Regions from separate parts of the Homo sapiens genome. Here regions 1, 2 and 4 are each linked to region 3. Evidence: promoter capture Hi-C in human tissues and cell types (Jung and others, 2019). All regions are on one chromosome and are shown on one strand. The core of a region is centred on a gene start or on the middle of the fragment in contact, and the rest is flanking DNA. Distances in the headings are between cores, read along the strand shown. Region 1 overlaps TG (thyroglobulin). Region 2 overlaps PHF20L1 (PHD finger protein 20 like 1). Region 3 holds the start of NDRG1 (N-myc downstream regulated 1). Region 4 overlaps TG (thyroglobulin).

The links. The method cuts DNA at HindIII sites, captures the fragments that hold promoters and counts their contacts. A contact is called where the count stands out against the background at its distance.
Region 1: a fragment that was not itself captured here is called in contact with the fragment with the promoter of NDRG1 in region 3 in 2 of the 25 tissues and cell types used here (heart left ventricle and thymus).
Region 2: a contact is called between a fragment that was not itself captured here and the fragment with the promoter of NDRG1 in region 3, in 4 of the 25 tissues and cell types used here (adrenal gland, bladder, heart right ventricle and 1 more).
Region 4: a contact is called between a fragment that was not itself captured here and the fragment with the promoter of NDRG1 in region 3, in 1 of the 25 tissues and cell types used here (IMR-90 fibroblasts).

Annotation. Positions count from the first base shown.
Region 1 is chr8:132,942,174-132,948,651 of GRCh38, forward strand. The region is part of intron 26 of TG (thyroglobulin); the gene reads left to right. Among named protein-coding and RNA genes, the nearest start is that of TG, 78 kb to the left of the region's middle. The HindIII fragment of the contact is 6,430 bases long and covers 1-4,733 here.
Region 2 is chr8:132,814,796-132,821,219 of GRCh38, forward strand. It overlaps PHF20L1 (PHD finger protein 20 like 1), which reads left to right. Exons shown (of 21, transcript NM_016018.5): 10 at 1-94; 11 at 2,093-2,281; 12 at 2,544-2,750. Among named protein-coding and RNA genes, the nearest start is that of PHF20L1, 43 kb to the left of the region's middle. The HindIII fragment of the contact is 4,931 bases long and covers 246-5,176 here.
Region 3 is chr8:133,295,149-133,301,823 of GRCh38, forward strand. NDRG1 (N-myc downstream regulated 1) reads right to left here and starts at 2,104. Exons shown (of 16, transcript NM_006096.4): 1 at 1,986-2,104. RefSeq lists a silencer at 1,985-2,434. The HindIII fragment of the contact is 13,971 bases long and covers 1-6,675 here.
Region 4 is chr8:133,034,847-133,041,031 of GRCh38, forward strand. The region is part of intron 41 of TG (thyroglobulin); the gene reads left to right. SLA (Src like adaptor) reads right to left here. Exons shown (of 9, transcript NM_001045556.3): 8 at 5,152-5,284; 9 at 1,882-3,891. The coding sequence ends at 3,678. Among named protein-coding and RNA genes, the nearest start is that of MIR7848, 8.6 kb to the right of the region's middle. The HindIII fragment of the contact is 3,127 bases long and covers 2,034-5,160 here.

The DNA.
Region 1 (6,478 bases), core at 269-2,768, 350 kb before region 3:
TCACTGCTGTCACTTTCTGGCTGTGCGATCTTGGACAAGTTACTTAATGAAGTTGCACTTCCCTTGTTTATAAAATAGAGATAATGATACTTTCTACTGGACTACTTGTTATAAAGATAATGAGTGCAAAATGCTGCGTATAGATTTGGCTCCTGGTGTGCCATTGATTGACTAAGAGAGTCTTAACTGTTTTATATGAAAACCAATCCTGTTTCTCCTTAGCAGCATCAAACTGTAAGCCACTATGTGACTGGTCACATTAAATTTATGAAAAATTCTAAAGATTAGAAAAAATTGAAATAGTCTGATATATCTTGTTATGGTTCTCACTTAAGTCAACAGGAGACTCCAATTGATCACCATATATGTGCAATGGAATGTTCTAGGCATTACAAACAGATAAAAAGGACTTTGGGTCTGGTGGGAGAGGCAGTGTGCACCGTGAAAGGGGAATAAATGGCCTTTACTCATTTATTCATCGCTGCTGGCGTTCAGCAAACATGTTTGGAGCACTACTCGGCATCAGGCTTGAGAACTAGGCAGTGTGCGATGCAAATGCCTGATGAGGTAGAGACGTAGAAGTCTTGGAGTGTGAAGGAAGAGGATAACAAGAGGAAGGTCAGGGAAGGCTTCCAGGAAGAAGAGGAACTTGGGCCAGGCTTTGTGGGATGAGCAGTACTTAGATGACAGAGTGGGAGGATTTGGTTCAGAGTGGGTGTCCTTGTGAGCTGAGCTAGAGACAGAGAGACCCCAGGTTTTCTGAAGGCTATTAACTGAGACATGGAGCTGATCAGGAAGCAGGTGTTTTTTGGTATCACCTCGAGGACTGTTGCTGCCTCCAGCATCTGCACAATATCCCCACCAGGCTCAGGGTAGAGGATGTCTCCTTCTGAGAAGGACTAACCCTGCCTCCTGGGTATAAGAGCCCCTTGTCTTACCTTTGCAGGCCCATGCCTGATACAATTTGGATGTTTGTCCCTCCTCATCTCATGTTGAAATGTGATCCCCAGTGTTGGAGGTGAGGCCTAGTGGGAGGTGTTGGGTAACAGGGGTGAATGGCTTGGTGCTATCCTCGTGACAGTGAGTGAGTTCTTCTTGCAAGATCCTTAAAAGTATATGCCACCTCCCCCTCTCTCTAACTCCTGATCTCCTGTAACATGCCTGCTCCCCCTTCACCTTCTGTCATGAATGTAAGCTTCCTGAGGCCTCACCAGCAGTAGATGCCAGCACCATGTTTCTTGTACTATCTGCAGAATCATGAGCCAATTAAATCTCTTTACTTTATAAATTACCCGGCCTCAGGTATTTCTCTATAGCATTGCTAGAACAGCCAAGTACAATGCCCCTGCCCTCCTCCCTGCTCTCCACCTGTCACCAGCCCAGTGTTTTCCAGGGCTCCCCAGCAGAAGGCAGATACATTGTTCTTAGCCCTTCTCCCTTCTTAAAATCCAACATGTGCATGGCACCACAGAGTCCATGACCTCCGACCTTCCCTCGAGTGCCTTTCCGGTTGCTCTCCTTCTCTACCACAGCCAGACCCTGCAAGCTGAGACCCTGTCTCACCCCCAAACTGCTTCTACCAGCTCTCCAGTCACCAGGGGCATCTTCTGATCCTCTGAAGGCCTGTTGTCTCTGGCAGCTGTCACTATTTCCTGCTGTCCAGTTATTTCCACCTTCTCCTCTCCTGACCTCCAAGATGCCCTTCTCTTGCTCCTTAAACTGTGCCTTCTCTTCTCCTTCAGCTTTCTGGGTTGAATCCTTAGATATTGATAGGTCCCACCTCCACCTCTTGTGGGTCTGTGTTCTGGGTGTGACCTCTCTGCAGAGGTCGACATCCATACACGCATCTGCTGTCCAGATATATCCTCTTGGACATCCGTTAGGAATCTCAAAGTCAAATGAATGGATAGTTTTTACCCTAAACCAGCCGATCTCAGTGAAGGGCACCTGAGCCACAGACCTGGGATCATGCTGAATGCCCCACAGCCCTCTTCCCTTCTGTGAAGCTGTCACTCCAATTTCCTGTTGCTCTCTTATTATTTTGTTTGAGATCGAGGTGTATTCCATCCCTGTCACCTCAGTCTGCATTTAAGCCTGTATTATTATTTTCTTGGCACCTGTACCAGTCTCTTAATTGGCCTCTCACCACCAACCCCCACTACTTGACTAGATTCCCCATCCTCCAAGTCATCCTATTCAACTTTAGGCTCTCCTTGTGATTTCCTCCTCCTGGAGTACTATTTTGTCCCTTCTTTTTGTATCCAAGTCCACATATCCATCTCCCTGGTGGATTCGAACTCCCCAGGCTATGAAAGAGTTATTTATCCTCAGCCTTTAGGACAGCCATGCTCACTGTAGGTGCAGAGGAATGCTGCTGAATTGGGCAGACCCCAAAGTGGGGAAGTGACCTGCCAGATGCCCGTGTTCCAGTGGTCAGCAAAGGGAACTTGGCTTTCCTGACTTATGACATAGACACTTGTGCTCTACTCCCCCTCCCACCCCCACTGTTTCCACCTCCTCCTCTCAGGTCCAGAGGGAGAAAAGGATAATTGTTAATTGCTAGACTCTGAAGACAAGTGAATATTGCATTGAAAACATGTAATAAGTCTTTTGCCCCATTCAGAGAGATAAATTAAGACTTTCCGAAATCTTGAATCATGTGTAGTTTAAATGAGATAAAGAGAAGAGGGAAGGTGATGTTAAATGGAAAGAATAGCATATGCAAAGTCCCTGTGGGAAGAGGGTGCAGGATAAAGAAGAGAAGCCTAGAGGAAGCCGTGGTCCCTGGAGCAGAGAGTACAAGGCCAGAGGTTTAAGGGGCGGGAGGGAGAGGCCAGGCCACAGTGAGGAGAACCTTGTAGGCGGCATGAATAGTTGTTTTTATTCTAATAACGACTGGAAGCCACTGAATGTTTTAAGCAAGGAAGTGTCATGATCAGATTTGAACTTTGACGTGAGCGCTTGTCATGTCATGGCTTGAATGTGGAGAAGGTTGTGGCTAGGGGTCAGAGTAGATGCAGAGATGAGTTAGAAACTGTCGCAGTAGTCCAGGGTAGAAGGTATGGTATCCTGGGCTAGGGCTATTGCAGTGGAGAGGGGGAATAGAAGACAGATTTAAAGCATCCCCAGGAGGCAAATTCAATAAGACTTTGAATTTGGGGGTTGAGGAAGAGGTGTCAATGATTATTCTTGGGTATCTAGCTTGTTCACCTGTTGTGTGGCAAAGAATGAAAGAGATTGGATGTCCAATTTGGCGATGGGAGAGGGAGATTTAGGAAGGCCGTGGGTCCATGTGGGGTATACTAAGTTTGAAGTGACTTTTGAGACATCCAAAAAATGTCAGCTGAGTTTTTAGATGCAAAGATCGAGAGCTCAGAAGGGAAGTGTGGATGGGAGATATAAATGTGTAAATTACAGCTTCGAGGTGGTATCAAATGTGTGGATATGAATGCAGTTTTCTAGGAGGAGGGTGCAGAATGAGGAGATAAAGGGGGATGGAGCTGATCTTGATGAACAGCTACATAACAGGTAGAGAATATGCAAAGAGATAGAGAAGGAGCAGCCAGAGGGGGAGAAGGAGATGGGGATAGTGGATCCTCGCGAAAGCTAGGGTGGGAGAGCGTTGCATGGTGAGGAAGTTGTCAACAGTCTTGAGTGCTGCTGAGAGTTCAAACAAGGTGATTCCTGAAAAATGCTGAGTTTAGCTCACAGTGGTTGAGGTGGCTAAAATGAGAATGTTTTGTTGGAGTGGTGGGGCAGGAACACAGATTGGAATGAGCTGATTCCTAAAATTCCTTCTACATTTAATGTTCTATGATTATGTGATGTGGATTCCTGTTAGTGTTTAGATAGGAAAAATATGTTACACACACACACACACACACACACACACACACACACCCTATATTTGTCTTGATGTATATCTATATTTAGAAACAACATAACTCAAATCCAGGATTCCTCTTTGAACTAAATGTATTTTCTGAAGATACCACAATTTCCCCAGATGCACAATGACTCACCAGACCATATGATTTTTTTCAAGCTGGAAAGGTTGATTTCGTTTTCCTTAGGATCATATATGGAAGAATGTTTTTGTTCCATGGAGTGGTAAGCCCACAAAATCCTTTTTTTCCATGATATTTCTGGCTGGCAGCTTGCTTGCTTTTCCCTCCAAGTTTAACCTGTGATCTGTGAATTATGTTGAACTAAACACTCACCTCGCAGTGCTGAAAGTCAAGCCTTCTTTGAGATACACATAAAGTATCGGGCAGATGTTTTCCCCAGTCTTGTCCAGTGGGCAAATCTGGAGTTTTAACTTATGAAGATTTGGCTGGATCTGCTGACGACCAGGAACAGAATTCCACTACATCCTTTACCACAGTCTGGAAAGTCATTTAGCTCTGGTGGATTCCCCTCCTTCCCCTCCTTTCCTTTCTCCCCTCCCAACAAGTCTCTAGCCTCCTCCAATCTCCACCCCTCTAAGGCTTTGTTTCCACTGAGAGTTATTAATGAAAATTCATGGGGCTTCTGAACTACATTTTAGTGGAGACTGCTTGGAAGTGGGGCTCTGAGGGCCTTGAATGGCCTCAGGGTCACAGGAGTGCAACTGAAGCTAAGCTGGCAATGTATGACCAGCAAAGTGACTTCCAGCCTCTCCCTGGCCCCTACCTCTCAGGCACAGCCTTCTCAGGGACATTTGGCACTAGTTAAAGAGGAAAGCTGCATGGGTTTCTCTACTGAGGTCTGAGAGCAAAAGGAAAAACGCACTCTGCCTCTTGTTAATTCCATCATTCTGTTTCCTGGCTTTCAAGTGAGCCAGACCACAGTGATCAGCCTTCCTCGAACTCTCCTGGGCTCTGAGTGTGCCCCTTGCTGGTGCTGCCCTCACGTTCCACAGCCGGCCCTCAAGCCTGCACCTTGCTGAGGCTCTTGCTGCCTGCTGGCCATTCCACAATTTCTTAGCTCCTAGACAAACCATTCTTCCTTTCTGTGCCTCGGTTTCCCCATCTGTAAAACGAGGTGGTCTAACTAGGTCAGTGATTCTCCATGGTGCTCTTTACAAACATGTATGTCCAAATGCACCCCGCCCCATACACGTGACCTACCAAGTCAGAAACTCTGTGGTTGATACCTAGAAATGAGCATTTTCAAAACCCTCCCTGCATTTCTGATGTCATCAGTCTAAGCATCCTTGTTCAGAAACCACCATATGAGATGACCTGGAAGGCCACTTAAAAAAATTCAGAGATTCACTGCTGCTGGTTTTTTAACTACTGCAGTTTAACAGTGGCCAGCAGAAGAGAAAAGGACACAATGTGAAATTTTTAAGCCAGACATCCATGAGTCACCTACTCTGGGGAAATTTTGGAGATAGAATTGTTTTGAACTAGATCCAGATTGGACATAAATTAGGAAATTAGAATGAGGAATGGAGTAGGAGTTGTGGGATAATATATTGCCCTTTTTTTTTTTTCCAGGAGAGTCTGAACAACTCTACTCCCTAAAAGGTTTATTTATCCAAATGGCATAGATATAAATTTATAAATCTGAATATCCTCAAGCAGCTTAATTAACTTACATGAGACTCAGTTTCCTCATCAGTAAAATGGAGATAATAATGTCTATAAGAATTAAGGGAATTAATATACTTAAAGACTTACCACAGTGGCTGGCACATAGCAGATATAAAAAAACGTGTGAGTTACTTGAATGTATCCAGCTAAAATCACTATCAAATTCGATTACCTTGGGAGTAGGTCTTTCTGATGCTAAACAAAGTCATAATTTTTGGGTAGCTTTTTAAAATTCAGAGTCAGGAGACATATTCAAGATAAAAGAGTCCAATGTCATCTCCCCTAGTTACAGATTTCTCTCCACACATCCTAGGCATATGGACACACAGTCTCTGCTTGGATATGTCCAAAGACGAGGAGCTCACTTCCTAACAGGGAAATATGTGTCATTGGTGCATAGGTCTTAGTTTTTAATAGTTTCTTACTCCGTCCCCCCCCAAAAAAAGTTTCTTACTTTGAATCTAAGTACTCCTTTATGAGACCCTTCAAGGTTGATCTTGTGTGTGTGTGTGCATGTGAGAGAGCGAGAGCAAGAGCGAGAGTGAGCGAGAGCGAGAGTGAGAGCGAGAGCGAGAGAGAGAGAAAGAGAGAGAGTGAATATGATGGGAAATGAGGCAGAAGGGGAGGAGAAAAAGGAAGAGGAAATTGAAGCAGCAGCAGCTCAGGAAAATCACCCCGTTCAGCAGGTGTAGACCATGGTGACTGAGGATTCTGGCAGTGATGCCCCCAGGAAGTTGGAGGTGCTGTCAGTGCTATGGATGCCATGAAGGAAAGCTCTCATAGGGAGGGAAAGGATCAGTAGGCTTGAAGGTGGCCCTCCCCTTGGAAATTTGCCAATAAGACAACTGCAGGAATCACAGGCAGGATTGTCTCAATTTAAAACCAGGCTCTTGAATTCTAGT
Region 2 (6,424 bases), core at 1,461-3,960, 480 kb before region 3:
AAACCCCCTAAATCACCACTTTCCCCAGAATTAATACAAGTCGAGGATTTGACGCTTGTATCTCAGCTTTCTTCTTCAGTGATAAATAAAACTAGTGAGCACAGATTTTTAAAAAATAGTTATTTATCCTATAAGATACATTAAAAACAGTTTGATTGTAGTTATATTGTATTTTTATGAAGTTGCTTTTTAAAAACTCAAGTGGATATGATAGGGAAGGCTTGAAACTATTTCAGGGGCAAAAACCATAGACATTTCTTACTGATTTATTGCTTAGAGACTACTGCTGGTTGAGAATCCTTTCCATTTAATAACACAGATTCCACTGTAGTTTGACTCTCCTCAACTCATAATCCAAGCATACTGAGAGGCCTGATTCATTACAAAAAAAAAAAGTTATAAAAAGACCCAGGATAGCTATTTTTACTTAAGACTATTCCTGTAGATTTTTTGTCCCCACTTGTCTATAACTTTCCTCTGCAATACATTTTATTCATTCTTATTATAATATTTATAGTCTAGACTTCAGTTTAATCTTTTTAATGAAAAAAAAATGCCCCCATGATTGTATTTTTAAAGATTTTACTGTTTCAGTACTTCTAATTTTTCAAGAGTTAACGCAGTCTTTTTCGAAAACACCTTTCACATGGGTATATCTATCTATCTCCCTATATATCTGTATATATAAATAATACAAGATTTGTGTTGACCCTGAGTTTCTCATATTAGTTTAGTATCCTAAGTTGGAGACATGAATAACAGTTATTTGAAAAGTCAGTTGGTAAATGATGGTTTTTTTTGCTCTTTATGCAAAAAATGAAATACATGATCAGTTGAGTGAATATGACATGTTTCCTTATTCCATATTGTGTCTTCCAGAATAATCAAAGATGTTGGCATTCAGAAGACTTTTATCAAACTTATTAACCTATTTTCCTTCAGTTGCCATATTTTCTACTGAATCATTTTTTCATTTTGATCAGGTTTTGCTTTTTCTTTTTAATAGGTGGAAAGAATGGGAACATAATTCAATTGTTTTCCTAATAAGCTTCATTTCATTATGGCATTTATCATGAAATAGTGTCAGTAGTAGTCACTGGAATGTCATATGACATTAATAAACATTTTATTTTGGAAATTATATCTTGGTATTATAACCACAATATTATAGCAATTAAATTTTATTCTTTCATATTTTTAAGTTATCAGCATGTCTTTTTCGTTTTGATTGTAAAATTACTCTTAAATACCCAAACATCAATGTCTTTAGACTGTTCTTATTTCCTCTTTCTAAATTAACATGAATATATTGGCATATATAATCTTGCCTATTCTAGTCAAATGTGTTTGTATGCCATGTAGAAAGAAGATATCTAAAAGTGTGAGAGACATTTCCAAATATTTATATTATATTGCTAGAAGATGCCTAAATTACTTACCAAGTTGTTAAAAAACACAAGTACACAATGTCATAATCTTAAATATCCTCATTATTTGCTCACAATAAGTATACAAAGTTGTTTTTGTTCATTTTTTTTTTTTAATGAATCAGGCCCAGACATGTTTATAAAACTCCATTTGGGGGGGATGATGATGGGATAAAATTATTTACATTAGTGTAAAGTAAATCACTAACTCTATAATGTTGTATCATCTTTGTCCCTGCCTTTTTTTCCCTTAGAGTTTCTAGATTTGCAATGTAGCAAAAGGAATACATATATATATATTTTTCCTTATCTTTTGCTGTAAAGAGACTATTTTCCCGAAGGAAAAATGGCAATTTACACAACGATCTGCAATTAGAGAAATTAACTGTAGTCTGTCACTTGGGGGAGCTACTTGAAATTAATGTTCCATTTTATTTTCTTTTAGTTCTAGTAGAGTGTAGATTTTACAATTTTTGATTGACTCATTTTGAATGAGGGCACAATTTTTGCCTTTGATTACCTTTGGAACATGCCATTCCTTGTGGATATCTTATAACAACATCAGAGGGAAGAATATAAATCATTTTTTCCCATTTATCTCCTTAAATATTGTAAGATGCTCCTGGTATGTATCTGCTTCGTGAACATTGAAGATCTTTTTCTAGGTCCTCCACAGCCTGTGAATCCCCCTAGACCTTTCAAGCATAGTGAGCGGAGAAGAAGATCTCAGCGTTTAGCCACCTTACCCATGCCTGATGATTCTGTAGAAAAGGTTTCTTCTCCCTCTCCAGCCACTGATGGGAAAGTATTCTCCATCAGTTCTCAAAATCAGCAAGAATCTTCAGTACCAGAGGGTAATGTATATTGATTTCCTATAGAACCAAACATAAAAGAAGATAAAGAAAAAACTAAGAGATAAAGATTATTAAAATATTAAGATATTTCTGCTCTTATATCTTCTGGAGTTATAAGCACTTCACTTATTCTACAAATATTTATTGAGTGCCTTCTTTGTGCCAGGCACTGTTTAAATTATGTAACACTTTAATTCACAGTGATAGTAACTGAGCCATTTTATCTGTGTTAATATTACATTACACTCTTTATTTTGTGTAGTGCCTGATGTTGCACATTTGCCACTTGAGAAGCTGGGACCCTGTCTCCCTCTTGACTTAAGTCGTGGTTCAGAAGTTACAGCACCGGTAGCCTCAGATTCCTCTTACCGTAATGAATGTCCCAGGGCAGAAAAAGAGGATACACAGATGCTTCCAAATCCTTCTTCCAAAGCAATAGCTGATGGAAGAGGAGCTCCAGCAGCAGCAGGTAAAAGAAAAAAAATAAAGGCTCCTATAAGTAGATAAGTAGCTAGGCTTGCAGTTATTAGGTATAAACATTTTGAGGTTTAACTACATTATTTTGATTCCTATATAATTCCTTTTCATAAATACTTTAACATTTATAGGAGAGTTTCATCTCCGTTTTAAAGGTCTTTTGTGTGATCATTTTACAATCATATTCCCTGGACATACATGCTGCTTAACCTTGTCACTTGATCTATTTCCTTCTCCCTGCTTCTTTTTTATATATCCTTATTTCTACTAAATATAAATTATTAGAGCCAAGTATAGTTACAGGAATTCTTACTTTTGAAGCTGGGAAATACTTAATGGGATCAGTACTTTGGTTTAAGGATTTTGATAGAATTTAATATTTAAGAAACACTGAGCTATATGCCTGTATCTTAAATATAATTCCATATTTTGGGGCAGAATCCTCCAAATTGAATTAAATTTGCTGTAAAGTTATTTGAGGAGTGCAATATGTAAAATCAGCCATCCTTAATAACACATTTTTTGCATGATTTTGTGATATTTATTGTAGTTCGAAAGCATTTGGATGTGTATTTTACCAAGCTGATATTTTAAATCTAATAATATCTATTCATGTTTCCCTTATGTGGGTGCATTGTTTTATTTAGAAGTTTTTAAGAATTATAACCTGATCTAGAATACACATAAAATAAAAAGGCCAATACTAGTTACAAATGCACTTCTGGTAAATTACTGTTGGAACTAGATGTTTGAAGGAAGTCTGAATTTAGTTTGTTGTGAGTTGGAGAAAAACATAAGGCAGTTTGTTGATTCGTTACCAAGGGTGTTGGTGATCATTGTGTTTACAGGCGTCTTCCCTGAAACCATTTTATCCATTTTTTGGATGAAGCATAAAATGAAACTTATTCTTTTCTGGTGATGGCATGTATTGAAATAAAATGATTGAAGTAACATAAGAGACATATACTTATTTTTATTAATTTTTATCTTTATATAAAGGTTGAAGTTACTTTGTACATGATAATTCTTTATCATGTTTAAAAAAATAAAACAATACCCAAATGTGAATATTTGTAGATTTTGAAACATTTCCTGTAGTTTCTCAAATCAGATCTATTGTCTTTTGACTCTTGGTCTTTCCTTAAGATAATTAATTTTTCTTTTCCACTTTTCCACAAGATTTCCAAATTGTCATTGACCCATTGAGATACTTTTTTGATAAAGGTCTTATTCGGTTCTTTAACGATCTGGAATTTGTTACCGTACTGAATATATGAAAAATATGTTAAAGTTATAAGGTTGTATATACATTGGGAAAATTATTTTCAAATGTACATGTGAAAATATTTACATTTTTCTTTAAAAGTATTCTAATATTTGTAACAATATTGAAATATAGGCCAATATAAGTAACTGTGTAATAACTAAGAGTCTTACATTAACAGATTATATATCATAAAATATCAATGTAGTGATTGTGCATGGAAGTCCTTGACTTCGATGATTTTGCTTCTAACCAGATTATTAACTTCCTCTTTTCAGAATTTCTAGCATATTTGTGGCAATGTGGCTGACTACCTTAGAGGAAGGCACACGAATATTCTTTCCCTTTTTAAATATTAGCAGTAACTATTGGAAAAGTAAAATAAGTAAGATCGTTTTCTGGGAAAGTAAAAGGTAGAGAGGAGTTTAGCTATAATTTGAATTTGTGGAAGAGTAAGGATTATCTGGATATGATGAGCTTAATAGTACAGTAGCTGTCAACTTTAATTGATTATAGCAAGGAAATGCATAGTTTTAATTGTTAATTACTGAAGATTTATTAGAGGGTTGAACACAGTATTTGAATAGAGGGAGGTGAAATTCTCATTTGTTTCTGTGACCTCTTAATTTTTAGTTTTTGAGGAAAGTAGTGCAATTTAGGTCATGTTCTGACTGAACACCTTTTGATTACAACCTTGTGTGCCTGTCCCACGTGCATTGAAATTCTCGGTGGTCTCTATGCTTTTCTCCTTAACCTTTTTGTTATTCACCCTCTCTTGACTATTTTGCAGTATTTGTTATGCTTCTGTCTGTTCCCCAAGTCCTTTTACATCTAGAGCCAAAGTGCCAGGTTTTTATGTTTTTATTTCTCTGATACATATGTACATATATGCACATACTCATACACACATGTATGTTTTGTTGGTGTCCATATTATAAAAGTAAATTTTCTTACTGTTGAATTTTAAAACTGATAATTGAAAACATTCTTTACAGTTCGTCAGAGACATTTTCTGAGTTATTTTTGTCAAATTGAAACTCTTGGGGAGTTTAGAATGATGAGGGTGTTAGTTGCTAACTGTGAAATTGTTCAACATGGTTAGGTTTTTACTTTTGGGGGAGCAAGATAAATTCACACTGTTGAGTTTAGCATTTGATGCTGAAGGATTGATGAGATTTGCAGATAGTCCAATTATTATATACAACTTTTCTTAATTGTTTTCCAATAGAGATAATGAACTTGCAATAATCTCTCGTATGTTCTTCTGCTGGGGTGGATGCCCACATGTCTAGCCACTGTTAAGAATGCTATTGCTGCCTACATTACCAAACAAGTAATTGGTATCTTTGTAAAAATTGATGCCTTTGTTTTTATTTTACTATCAGGATGCTTTGTCACAGAGCCAGCCAATTTTAGATAAGGATACAGCCTCAGAAAATCTTAATTCTGTTAGTATCTGGGAGGATAGAGTAAATCAAGTTTTTTGAAAAGGGGTCTTTTGAAAAATACTCTTGGTTCAGGTTCTCACAGGCACCTTGGGCCAACAGTTATCTATTGCCCCTTGTCAACACAATTCTCTTTAGGTGGGAAGCACAGTGTGAACAGATGTGGAATCTGCCTTCTGGAAACTTAGAGTCTAGAAGGGACACAAAGCTAATAACTGAAATACAAATATTTAAAGCAAGATTAAGTGCCTGAATAGGTGTAAAGTACTCTTGGGTGTAAAGGAACAAAAGATTGCCCCAAGAGGCCTCTGGTAGAGCCTCTTAAAAACTCTGGAGAGACAAACCATCTGCCTTCTCTTCCTGCTTCCTTGAAACTCAGTTTTTCATCTATATGATGAGATTATAGTAGATGATGTCTGTGGTCACTTTTGGCTCTACAATGTTGATGTTTTACTTATCATTAATCAGGCATTTGATAGAGTCTATGTTTATTCCAAAAAAAGATTATGATGTAGGATTATTTTTGCTTAAAAACGTCAATTAAGATAGCCTTAGAGATGATAACTTATTGTTTGTAACCACTGTGAAGACAAAATTGGCATTAGTAGGTTGTATGCATATAATTTTGAGCCATTTTAAAAAGTTATTCTTGTATTAAAAGAAATACCTTTAGTAACCCATCTTCATTTTTTTTTTATTTTTTAGCAAATTAGTAAATAAGTTTCAAGGAGCATTTTCCTGTTTTATTGCAGCATGTCTTAGTTAGCATGGATAGGAATGTTGGCTTGACGTGGCCATGCAGAGTGTACCTTTATGTAACGTCAGGATGTCCATGAGCAGGTCCCCTGAGTTTTCGGGTAGCATTCGATGAAATGCATCAGGCTTTGCTTCAGTGTCATTCAAAGTCATCTTAGTTTTTGAATGAAATGTAGATGCAAGTAAATGTATTTACTTATT
Region 3 (6,675 bases), core at 854-3,353:
AACACCTCCACCCATGCACAGTCTATTACCTCGCCCGAAACTCAACCTGCTGGTTCACAGGAGAATGGGGCAGAAGACCCAGAGCCATCCACTTCATCCCATGTGCATATTTCAACTCCTCCCACCTGCCAGGCGCTGGGCCAGGGGCCAGGTTACAGGGCAGGGCAGGCAAATCCTCCTCCTTGCCCAGATGCAGTGGGAGACACGGTCCCACAAAGCTAAGAAGTCACAGGTCAGGGGAACACCCAGTTTTCCATCCACACCAAAACCCTCTCTCTCCCTTACACCTTCCTTCATCCCCGACACTGTGCCACCCCAGCCTGGGGCTGGCTCTGCCGCCACACACACCACACAGAACCGGTCTGCGTCTCCAGCCGTGTGTCTTCCCCACCAGAAGGCAGCCCTTCCAAGAAAGGCGCTGGGGTTTGCCCCCTCTGTACCTTGCTTATTTCAATCACATTTGTGAAACTCAATAAGAACGCCAGAATTTCTCAACAGGAAGAGTCTAGACTGAAAAATTCGCCTTGAAACTACATTTCTGCAGCAAGAACAGGGGGTTTGTATTTAGATATGTTCTTTTGAGGCAGCTTAGGAGAAGGTCCCGTGCAGCTGATGGGTATTATAAGGATGTCTACCGCCCTCCTGCCTGGCCACTGGCTGACTTCTGAATATTAGATATTTCCCAGTAGCTTAAAGAAACCAAACAAACTGAAGTGCCCCCAGCGTCCGTGAGGAAGGGGTGTTCTTGGATGGGCATAAGATAACCAAGGGCCCTGCCTCCCCCACCCACTGCCAGGCATCTCCCACTTCCAAGCCACAGAGGCGTGCTGTTCAGGACCCCCAGGGACAGCAGGGACAACAGGCGGGGGATATGGGGGAGGGGTGGGTAAGGAACCGACCCACTAAATCCCAGCTCCAGCTACTAATTTGACAGAGGCGTGACAGCGTGTTTCCCCCAGAACCAGCCGCATTCCCCAAGCCCAGCCCGAAATCTCCTCCCGAGGCTGAATCAGAGACCGCGGCGGATCCCCCAGGAACGTCGAAGTAATTCCAGCTGTTTTCCCCCGTGGAGGGCAGGAGCGGCCAGCACCAGAGGCAGGGGAGGGGAGGAAAGCGGGGGAGGGTGGGCGGAGGCGAAAATGACGCCACTCCTAGCTCCAGCCAGCTCAAGGGGCCGCCAAATGTCCGCGAGACCCCTCTCGCCCAGGTCACTTCTCCCACGCCGCCGATGCGCCAATCCCGGGTTCCTCCGGGGGCGCACCCTGCCCAGTGGCGCTCGCAGACACTTGCTCCGGCTCGCGTGTTGCACTGTGACACACCCTGGACCCTCCCCCCACACACACGCTTACACTCACACATGCACACCGCCCTGTGTGTGCTACGGGACTGAAGCGCCACCAGCCTCTCGGATCCACACCCGTTCCCGACCCAGTCTGCAAGCCAGACACACCCACGCCCCCCTCTCCAGCCTCCTTGCCAGCGCCACTCACCTCTACCAACCCCTCATCTACACACTCGCGCGCAATCTCTCCGTTCCCAGACACAGACACACACACACACACACACACACACACACACACACACTCACCTAGTCCCTTCTGCACCCACGTCCAGCGCGCACCCCTGCCAGCGGCGCCAGCTGGGATTCGGAGACGACGCCAGGAAACGCTATCCTGGTATTTTTTCGGACCGTCTCATCGCCCCCTTCCCGACCTCCAGAACCCCAATCCCCAGCTAGGGGGGAGATGAATGGGACCCTGTCTTTTTTTCCTCCCTTTCCGTAATTGAACCCCCCACTTCAGCGGTGTCTGCACCCAAAGCCCCCTCGCGCCCGCGCCCCGGGGTGACCGCGCACTTGCAGCTCCGGGGCGCTTACTCCTGGAGTACGCGGGGCTACAAAGGGCGGTCCTGGCGCTCCAGCGGCACCGCACGGGCGGCCCCTTTCTGCTCCGCGTCGCGCCTGGGAGAAGAGGGCGCGGGCTTACCTAACGCGAGGGAGAAAGGAAAGGACGGTGCCGAGGCTGGCGGCCCAGCGCCCCGCGGAAGCCGAGGGCGGATGGTGAACTGACGAGCTTCAGCACCAGCTGGGAGCCAGGCGAGGTTTGTTTACGTCCGGGCGGAGGGCGACTTTATAGGCGCCGCGGCCCCGCCCCCGCGCCTCGCCCCTCCCAGACCCTCGCAGTCCCAGCACGCAGCCGGGACACACCCCTTCCCCGCTCCCTGCTCCCTCCTCCCGGGCGCGCCGGGCTGGGCTGGGCTCCGGCAGCGCGCGGCGGGCGCCCACTGGAGCCGCCGCCTGTTGCGCAAGCAGTCGTAGGGGCGCGGCCGGGAGGGGCATCGGGGCCCGGGTTGTGGGTCGGCTCTGCAGTCCCCTCCGAGTCCAGGGCCTCGGCCTGTGCAGCGGGCGCGTGTGCCCTGCCCGGAGGAGGCGTTTGTGTGCTTGTGCGTGTTCATGTGCGCGCTCGTGCGTGTGCATGTGGACTTCCTTGTGTCTCCGTATGGGCGGAGGCCCCCCATCTCTGCCTCAGAGTTTCTTCTAAGAGTCTCGTTGCGCCACGCCCTGAGCGACTCCCTTCACTTCCTGTAGGTCTCACCAGCTCGGCTCTCCAGCCGGATTCGGCTGCCTGCCCAGCAGCCGCCTTCGCTTTCGCCCGACAGGCTCCCTCCGATTCTCAGCCTTCCGTGTCGCCAAAGCTCTCGCTGAAATCCTCGCTCCCGTTTAATCTCGTCCATCTTGCCCACCGCCGCCCAGCGCTTACCCTTCCCCTCATCTTCCCAGTTCTAAGCACACTCACTGGACCTTGCCCACTGGGCTCTTCTCTCCTGCCCCACAAGCCCAGATGAGAGGATTCTCACCCCTTCCTATTCTGATTTCCTGAACTTTCATGACTCACCCTTTCCAACCTTAGCACCGTCCTGCTCTGCTGCTCTGTTTGTGCGTAACTATTGGCCTGCATGTTCCCATCTGGCCAAAGAAACCAGCAATTCTCAACCCCTACTGCATATGAGAAGTCCCAGAGGAGCCGCCAAATTAAAAAATAAATAAATAGATAGATAATAAAAAGAGAGAGATGGACTCCAGAACAGTTTAATCAGAATCTCAGGGGGTGCAAACCAACTGGGCATTGGGGTTTTTACAAAGCTACCCAGGTGGCTCCTGACGTGCAGCCAGGTTGAGAAGCACTGCATGGAGGAACATGATTTTATGAATAAAGGAAGTCTGACTCACAGCTGGCACCGTCATTGTCCTCAGGCCACCTGCCCAGCGTTGAATTTGCCACTGAGCCCAGGACCAGACCCAGGGCAAGCTCAGGTGACCCTCCCTGCGCCTCCACAGACACACACGCGCGCACGCACAACACTTCCTGCTGAATTGTAAACCTCTTTTCTGTGCCAACCCATGCTGTCCCCAAGGCAGGGGCCATGGCTTTCCCCTCTGATTATTAGGGCCAGTTTTGGAGAAGGGTTTTCTGGAACAAAAGAAATATGGAGAGGGGCAAACAGCACCTCTAGGACCCAGGACATCTGTGTTTCAGGCCTGTCTTTGACACTATCGATCACAAATCAACAAATCTGGGCTTCAGAATTCTCACTGGCAAAGGGAGAGGATTAGATTCAATGATCTTTCAGAACCTATCTAGTGCTAAAGCTCTGTTATTCTATTACAAATGACCAGTGTGAAGAACAGAGTTCCAGTGTCATGGGTTTTGCTGCTAGAAGAGTTTGGCTAAACTACAAAGTTTGGCTATTAGCTATGAAGTTTGGCTAAACTACAAAGTTTGGCTACATTCAAGAATGCCTTGAATGTAGGAGCACATTCCCCCACCCTAGAAAATTTAACATCTAGAATTAATAAGTGAATGAATGACCACTGGGCAGTCTTCCATTCTTTATGGATTTGAACTAGTTCAACTGCAGCATTCCCAGTGAGGGAAAATTTTTCTTATTTCAAATAAAATGTTGTGTCCAGGTAGAGTGGCTTACACCTGTAATCCCAGCACTTTGGGAGGCCAATGCAGAAGCCTCTCTTGAGTCCAGGAGTTTGAGACCAGCCTTCACAACATAGTGATGTCCCATCTCTACAAAAAAGATGAAAGCTAGCCAGGCCTGGTGGCAAGTACCTGTAGTCCCAGCTACTTCAGAGGCAGAGGTGGGAGGATTGCTTGAGCCCAGGAGTTCCAGAAAAGTCTGAGCAACATAATGAGACATCATCTCTACAAGAAAATAAAAAATCAGGTGGGCTTAGTGGCATGCAGCTGTAGTTCCAGCTACTTGGGAGGCTAAGGCAGGAGCCTTGCCTCCCTAGGCCCTGAAACTTATTTATTCTGTCATTCCACAAATGACAGAATTGAGCTGCTCTTATGAGCTGGGTCCTGTACTCCGCCACTGGGAAAGGACTGAAAAGGCAAAAACATTTTCTACAGGTGCATAGCATGGTACAGCCCCAAGACGCAGTTTCTCCATCCATACAGCGTGGTTGAGATGAACTCATTCATTCCCTAACTATATTAAGGACCTACTATGCCCAGGCACCATTCTAGACCCTGGGGACATGATCATGAACAACAGCAACAACAAAAGTGCATCTCTGGGAGCCATCCTGCTGTCTAAAGACCCTCCCAGATCAAGCAGCCTGTGTGCCTGTTATCCTTTAGCCAGCTTACACATACCCATTTTCCCATAGGCTCCCCATTGCGGCGATTTATTGAGTGAGCACCTTTGGTTTTTTACCTGCTAAAGATACAAGAGTGTCAAGTTCAAAAGTGCGGAGTGTCAAGATAAGGAATGTCAAGTTCAAAGGCGCAGGGAAGGCGGCCCACTTCTTCAGTAACAAATGGAACTAGTGCATGGAATTAGAAGGGCATTTTGCCAGGGGAGGCCCTTGCCTGTCTCTTTGAGGAGGTCCTCAGGACAGAATGCGAAGAGCAGCCCAGATTTGCAGCTTGAAACCCCGAGGAGGTTGCCTGGCAGGAGGCTGGGCTTGTGTGGGAAGCCTAACCTTCTGGAAGACCATTAGCATTGAATAGGTCAGAAGACAGAGGAAGGAGAGTGGAGTGAAGAGAAAAGAGCAGAGAAGGGAGGCAAGAATTTGAGCAATGGAACACAATTTTCCAAGTGATGGCATTCTAAAATCAGAGTCCACATCACCTTGGAGAAGGCCTGAGGAAGACACCATTTGGATTCCACACTCCCCTCCCTCAGCCCAACACAGCCAATTTTCCTTCCCTGTTGAAAAGGATGTTTTCTTCCGCTGAGCACCAGATGAAGTAGTTTTCTTAGCTAAGTGTCACGCTGCAGGAGAAAGACTGTCTTTAGTACAGGCCTGGATGCACATAAAGCATAGAGGACGCCCACCCTATACAGAGGCCCCTCACTGGGACCTGGGAGCTGCATGCACCTCCACATCCCCCACCGCAGCCAGCTGAGGTGGCAGAAGCTCACGGAGCTGAATGTGGGTGCAATTGCACTGACTGTTTACATTATTCCTCTTTCTCGCTGGTCAGCAGTAGAATCAGATTTGCTTAGTAAATGCACACGCGCTGCAAATCCGTCACAGGATGAGATTGGATTTTCTGGACTAATGTCCACTGGAAATTTCTACTTAACAACAACTTAGATTTTATACTAGAATATTCTAACCAAATGTTCCAAAAATGACCATAGGAATCACCTGTTCCCAACTGTCTTTCTTAAAACTCATGGGTACTCGGGGTTGGGAGAGACCAAGATGCAGCAGGGATTCATGGAGAAGAACCCGGTGGTCTGTGGCCCCCAGCTCCAACTTCACCACTTATGAGCTGTAGTACCTGGGGCAAATTACTCCACCTCTCTGTGCATGGAGGAAACGAGTGAGAGAAACCATCAGACCTTTCAATCACAATTTATGGGTCTACTGCTGCAGACCATCATCTTTTCTGTCTGTCAAAATGAAAAAGTGTCCGTAAAAGTGTCTTCCCACCTCCAGTCCTGGGCTCCCTCGGGACCCCCTCTCTCCTCCAGCATCCATCTCTCCCTTTCTTCTGGATCAAACTAATCAACAAGTAAATATTCACTGCAATCAATGACCCACCCTAAACCAATCCCCTCTTAATTCCAAGCCCCCCACTCCTGTACTGCAGCCCAATCAACAAGTAAACATTCACTGCAATCAATGACCCACCCTAACCAATCCCCTCTGATTCCCAAGTCCCCCATTCCTGTACTGCAGCCCAGTTCCTCTCACCCCTTCCTCCCTAAACTTTCCAAAACAAGCATCTGTACCCAAAGGCCCACCTCATCTCCTCTTCCTTTTACTTTGTAGTGATTATCAAGTTTTTCTTGAACCTGGTCAAATAAGTCTTCAAAACTTGTTAGGAAAAACAACAGCCTTTGTCTCCCCACTTTTCCACTTCCCTATCCCCAGAAGTCACCACTCTCTGCTCTTGGAGAATTATTTCTATCTTATCTTTGCCACTTGCAGACTCTATGCTCTTGGGCAAGTTATTTCATTTCCTTCCTCTGCCTCCTCATGTATAAGATACACATAACAATACAGGGTCATTGTGATAAATATATGTGTTAATATATGTAAAGTGCCTAGAACAGTCCCTGGCATATAGAAGGCTCTCATTAAAGTGTTCACCCTCATCCTCACTGTCATCATCACCATCATCATCATCATCATCATCATCATCA
Region 4 (6,185 bases), core at 2,347-4,846, 260 kb before region 3:
CTGCCGTCTTAGGGCTTTGCTGGTAAGGGGCACACTCCCTCTTTAGGTATGGTTACAAGCAGAACTGCATTTGATTTGCTTTCATTCTCCATCATCTTTCTTGATCATGCTTGTTCATATTTTTATCACATTAGTCTACTTAAACAATGTTTTGCTTTTTAAAATCTTCTCTATGGCTGTGTTTTCAGAAGTCTATTTCACTGATGTCTTATTGTTATCTTCTACCTTCTTCCCGTTTCCTTGGTTATCTATTGTTCCTTTAGCTTCTTAAGTTGAAAGTTAATCTCATTACTTTCATTCTTTGTTTCCTGATCAATTTATTTCAAGCAATAATTTACCCTCTATCAGCTACACCCATGAAATTTTGAAAAGTAGCAATATGTCATTTATTTATAACATTTTATTTATTGCATTATTTTCTTCTTAACCTAAGGATTTGTTTTTTAGACTTTAGATCCCTAGAATTTTTAAATTTTTATTCATCATTTTGGAATTTGATTTCCAATTTTATTGCTTTATTATCATAGAGCATGAATTGGAAGATTCTGACTCTGAAATTTATTAGTACTTTCTCTGTGACCTAATACATTATCCATTTGTTGGCAGAAAAGTTATATAGTGTTATCAAAATCTATCTACCTATTTATTTATTTACTTATCTTTGCTTACTGTATCAATTTCTGAGATTTGTATATTAAAATCTCCAAATAAAATTATTGACTTATCTATTTGTCCCTGTTCAGTTGCTTAATATATTCTGAAACTATATCATCCCATTAACATAGGTTGCAATCATTGTTTCTTCTTAATGTTTTGTTCCTTTTGCACATCTCTCTTTGCCATTATGCAATTTATTTCACCTTAAATCCCATTTTGTCTCAAAATGCACCACAGGTTTTCCTTTTGTTCATTTTTGCATTAAAATTTTTTGCCCCTTTATTTTCAAACTTTGTGTGTCAATAGACAATACAATGCTGGAATTTTAAAGATTTGTCCTCCACACAGCATGATCTTTTAAACATATCAGTGAAATGGTCTTACCCCCTACTTGGATCCTTTCAATGGCTCCTCATGTCTCCTGGAATGGACCCTATGCCATCCCCTACCCTCTAGGGCCCTGCAGGACCTTCCTGATACCTCCTAAGCACACTCCCTCCTTCCCTAGCTCCCTCAGTCTGGCCACCCTGCCTCCTTTTAGCTCCTTCAGCATGCAGTCTTGCTCTTCCTGCCTGCAGGAATTGCCCCATTATTCCTGCTGACTCCATACACTTCCTAGATCTTTACAAGGCTGTTTGCTGCTCATCTTTCAGGCCTCAGCCCAAACATTGCCTCTGCTTGGAGGCCTTTCCTAAGCCTGGACCTGAAGGATGTCCTGCCTGCCAGGTGACTGCTTGGAGCCTGCCCTCATCCTCATCACCATCATTACCAAGCATCTTGTTTATTTATGATGTCAAGCTCCATGATATCAGAGACCTCATCTGGTTTTCATTGCTATAGCCCCAGTACCTGAGCAGTGTCTATTTAGTAGGTGTCCAGAAATATCTGCAGAAAGAAATTCTTGGAAGAACAAATAGCGCAGCTATCACAAGTAACGTGCAGAAAATCTAGGCAGGACGTTTTTATAACAATCGTTCAGAATTTGGTGTTTCCTTCAATCCCTTAGGCCCATCTTCAAGTTTCGTAAGACACCCCCCAGAGTCATACAATCTGCTTTTTCTTAAGGTCACACCTAAAGAAGATGCTGAGCTGCTAACTGGCACCAGGTTTCTCTGGGTGATCTTTACTCCTCTCTCTCTAGTTGCACGTTTATTTGAAAATTTGAAACCCACTGAGCTTCTGAATGAACCACCCATCCTCCTCAACCCAGAAACTCTCCCTGTGTGCCAAGGGTTAAATATTTATTAGGTTTGTTTTAATCAGGAATAAATACATGATTTAGCAAAGTGTAATGCTTCCCACTGAGAAATCCCTCTGGGTGCTCCCCAAATGTTCCAATCACATTCGTCACAACGGAAAACAACACATAAGATACTGTGCAGACATCTGGAGTTCAGGGGGTCACCCTGCCTTATGCGGGAAGTCAATGTCCACAGTGTTACATTCATTTCTCATACGTTGGCTGGTTCCTTTGAAATAGCCTTTTGGAACGGTTGGGGAAACCACAGATGTCTCCTTGTATAAACACACTAGAATCTATGATACAGAAAACTGTGTAACTGCACATACACATACCAGTAGCACGATGAGCTCAGATGGACGGAATGCTTATGTGAGCAGACAGACAGGGAGAGATACTGCAAGCATGTTCCCCTCCTTCCCCAGGATCCCTTTGAAACAGGGAAACATGAGTCACAGATTCATCTGCAGCCCACTCTCTTCCTAGTAGGATTTGGATGGGAGCTTCTCCTTCTCTGGCTATACATTGTGTTTTCTCCCTTGTCTCTTAAAATTATGCATGACATCATTAATCCACTTGGACTCCCCATCTTTCCTGGAGCTGAGCATTTTTCCTCATATGGATGCCAGACCCTTCTTAGAATAAAGTACCGGGTGAGTTAATTCTTTAGACTGTATCCATTTCTTTTCTAAAAAATCCAGCTATTCTTACCTACCCGATCCAGCCAGCCCTTCCACTCTGAAGAGCAGCTGGAAAATGAGCTCCTGAGTGTCCCTCACCTGTCTCTAATTCCATCCTAAGCCATGAGCTGATTTCTCTTTTTACACATTTGTTTATACATTTTTTCCCTGTCTACACTGTGAACACCTCTGTTGGGGGTTAGGACTTACGCATCTTTTTTTTTTTTTTGGCTTGCCTGACACCTTACAGAGGACTTAATGCAATGCCTATTCGGGCAATAAATGAATACTTGATGCATTCATACAGGCAAGAATCCCAGCATCCCAGAGAAGCTCTGTCTGCGCTGCAAAGCCATGGCTGCAGACATCAGGGAAGCTGGTGCAGTTCTAGTCTCGCCTCCTCGATTTCCCTGCCAGCAGTCTTCCTCTCTCTCATTCTTCTGGCCCTCTGCAGAACCAGGGAGGCCAACTGACTTCCACCCATATGGCTTTGGTGCAGGAGCAGACCAAAGGTATCTCCCAATTGAAGGCTAAGAAGTCCTTTGGGCTAATGTTTAGTGTCACGAAGTTCCTTTAAAAAGAGAGGAAAGCATACCAGAAGTCCCTATGGATTAGTTAAAGTAGTTCCATTCAGGGCACCCATCTGCAAACCCAGACCTTCTGCCAGGACACAGCTTTTGTTTCCTCTCCCTCTCAGGCTTGCCCATACAGAAGTTCTCTCCAATGACCTTGGAGTGTAACTGTCTGGACAGGTCCAGTTCCTTGGAGAGCAGTCCTGGTGCCCTTTCTTGTGAGAGTGGCTTTGTCCTTCCCACACACACAATGTGTGCATACATACATGCTGGGCTCTTCCAAGCATCGCCCGACATGTCATGATCCAATGTTTCGTGATGCCACAGCCCTGATCAGACACCAGGGAGGGGTTCCTTTGGTCATGATGTGGATAGAGAAGATGCGAATTTGAGTCTCCATGTGGCTTCTCTTGGCTTCTAAAATACGTGAGGCTCCCAGGGATCAGGGAACCTCGCTTTTCGCAAGATCCCAGGCAATAGTTGGAACTTCTGTTCCTTTTGGGCATGAACCATTGTGTCTGTTCTTGGCTAGTCCTCAAAGTAAGGTGGTGATGAGAAGAATGAGCTCTTTCTCTTGCTGCCACCATACATCAGGGAGATGCTTTTCTTCTTTCGATCAAAGGAGGTGTTGTCCTCACTGGTCAGGGACAGGTAAGAGGCAATGCTCTCTCGAAGGCCATAGCTGAAAAGGGACTCGTCTACCCCAAGCGGGTTCTCTGTTCCCTCGGGGTCCTCCTGCAGTCTGTGGGCCAGAAGAAAAGGCAGTAGAGAAAGGGAAAAAAAGAGAGTCATAGAGAGAGGAGGAGATAAAGGGCAAGAGAATGAGAACAGGAGGAAAAGAAAAACAAAAATCCTGGTGACTATTTCTCTAACTTATTATTATTTTTCTTTATTTATTTTAAGATGGAGTCTCGCTCTGTTGCCCAGGCTGGAGTGCAGTGGTGCAATCTCTGCTCACTGCAACCTCTGCCTCCCAGGCTCAAGCGATTCTCCCTCCTTAGCCTCCTGAGTAGCTGGGATTACAACCATCCACCACCACGCCCAGCTAATTTTTTGTATTTTGAGTAGAGACAGGGTTTCACCATGTTGGCCAGGCTGGTCTCAAACTCCTGACCTTAGGTGATCTGCCCACCTCAGCCTCCCAAAGTGCTGGGGTTACAGGCGTGAGCCACCGCGCCTGGCCCTAACTTACTATTCTAGTTATTACCCTAACCTATTACTCTAACTACTCTAACTGCAATTATTCTAACCCATTATTTTAATTCTGGTTCTTACATTTGTGGGCTGTGTGATCTTGGACAAATCACTTAACCCGTCTGAACTGCTCTTTTCTTGGATGGCTGACACTTCCAGCTGTAAATTTTAGTAAAAATTAATTTTTGTTATTTACAAGAAAGAGCAGTTTTCTTCATGTCTCGCATAATTTTGATCCTGATTTTCTTTGATTTGCCAATGGGATGTCTGGATTGATACTGAATTATTAAGATAACCCACCAATCCCAAACTACAGATATCCTTTAAAATTCACAGGCTGACAATGGAATAAACAGAACAAATCCATGAAAGTTTTTTTCTCTTAGAAAAAACAAAGAAGTCACTGTAGGATTCTGCTGATGTGTTTAAGCTTTGTGAGTGGGTTTTAAATAATATTAAATTTACACAGGATGTGTTACTTTCTAGGATCCTAACAATTAGAAAAGGAAAAGTGGTATATTTCAGCTAGAATGTATATTGCTAGCATAGAATAAGGACTCAGTAAATGTTTGCAGAAACAGGGGGAGCTGCCACACACCTCGTGAGGCCTGAAGCTGCCCCTGCACCCAGGGATTCCCTTGGTCTACACTTGTGGGGGGTGCTCACCCCCCAGTTTCAGCAGGGCTGGCTGACTCTGGCCATGGTTTTCATGTGCTCGGCACACACACCGTTTTGTGCTCACATGTTCACAGAGCACTTGCATGCACACACACACACACACACACACACATACACACACCATACTCACCTGGACACTCTCCTCCAGTCCACAGTCTTCTGACGCAAGGTGACAGGTGAGCTGGAGGCCCTCACTGCTGGGGCAGCCGTGCTTTGTGTCAGGCAGGGCGTGGTGAGCACACAGCACAGGCCATCAGCCACCTCTGAGGAGGGAAGCAGACAGCCGGTCAGGGACCCTGGGGACGCCTCAGCCAGTGTGGGGTTCAGGCCTGAGACACTCTCCAGTGCAGCTCCCTGGCTGCTGCCATGGGGAACTGGGCCTGAGATTTCAAAGGGGCATGGTAGGTGGTGACAATGCTGAAAGTCACGCGCCCAGCTGTTTGAGAAATGTAAGCGTGCCCTGGTATACTCTGCACTTAGCCAGGCATGGGCAGAGAGAGAGGTTTAAGATCCAGTATCAACCAAGCTTGGGTTTGAATTTTAGCTTTACCCCGATAGTAAATTATCAAGAACGTCTCTGAGCTTTCCTTTCTTCAACTGCAGAATGAAAGAAATGAAGCAACAAGTGAGTGCCTGCAGAAGCCGCAGCCTTCCAGGGTTTCCCGCAAATGCCCAATCCATTAACCTCACAGGGTGTGAGAATGGGGCTGCATACAGCGCTGATCCCCCCAGTTGTGCATTTACAATGGAACAGGTGGACTAAATAGATCTCTAGGAAGAAAGATAAAAGAAACAATGAAAGAAGGAAGGAAAGGAGGGAGGGAGCAGAGGAGGAATGAAAGAGGGCGAGGAGGAAAAGCAAAAGTGAGAGGGAGAAGGAGGAAGAGGAGGAGGTGAAAATAGCACAAAAAGTAGAAGACACAGGAAGGGAGGGAAGAGAAAACAAAGATAAAGAGGGCAAAGAGAATGCAGACAAAGAATGAAGACAATCTCTCTTTCACTCTAGAAGCTCACGCACAAAAAGAATAAAAGTTAAATAAACCCGTTTCTTTTTTCTCTTGCATGAAAATCTCTGTATAAAATGTCTGACTCTCAGGATCCCCCATCTTTCCAGGCACATTACGATGTAGCTTCCGTCTCTTGGAAGGCTTCTCCCTAGCCCAT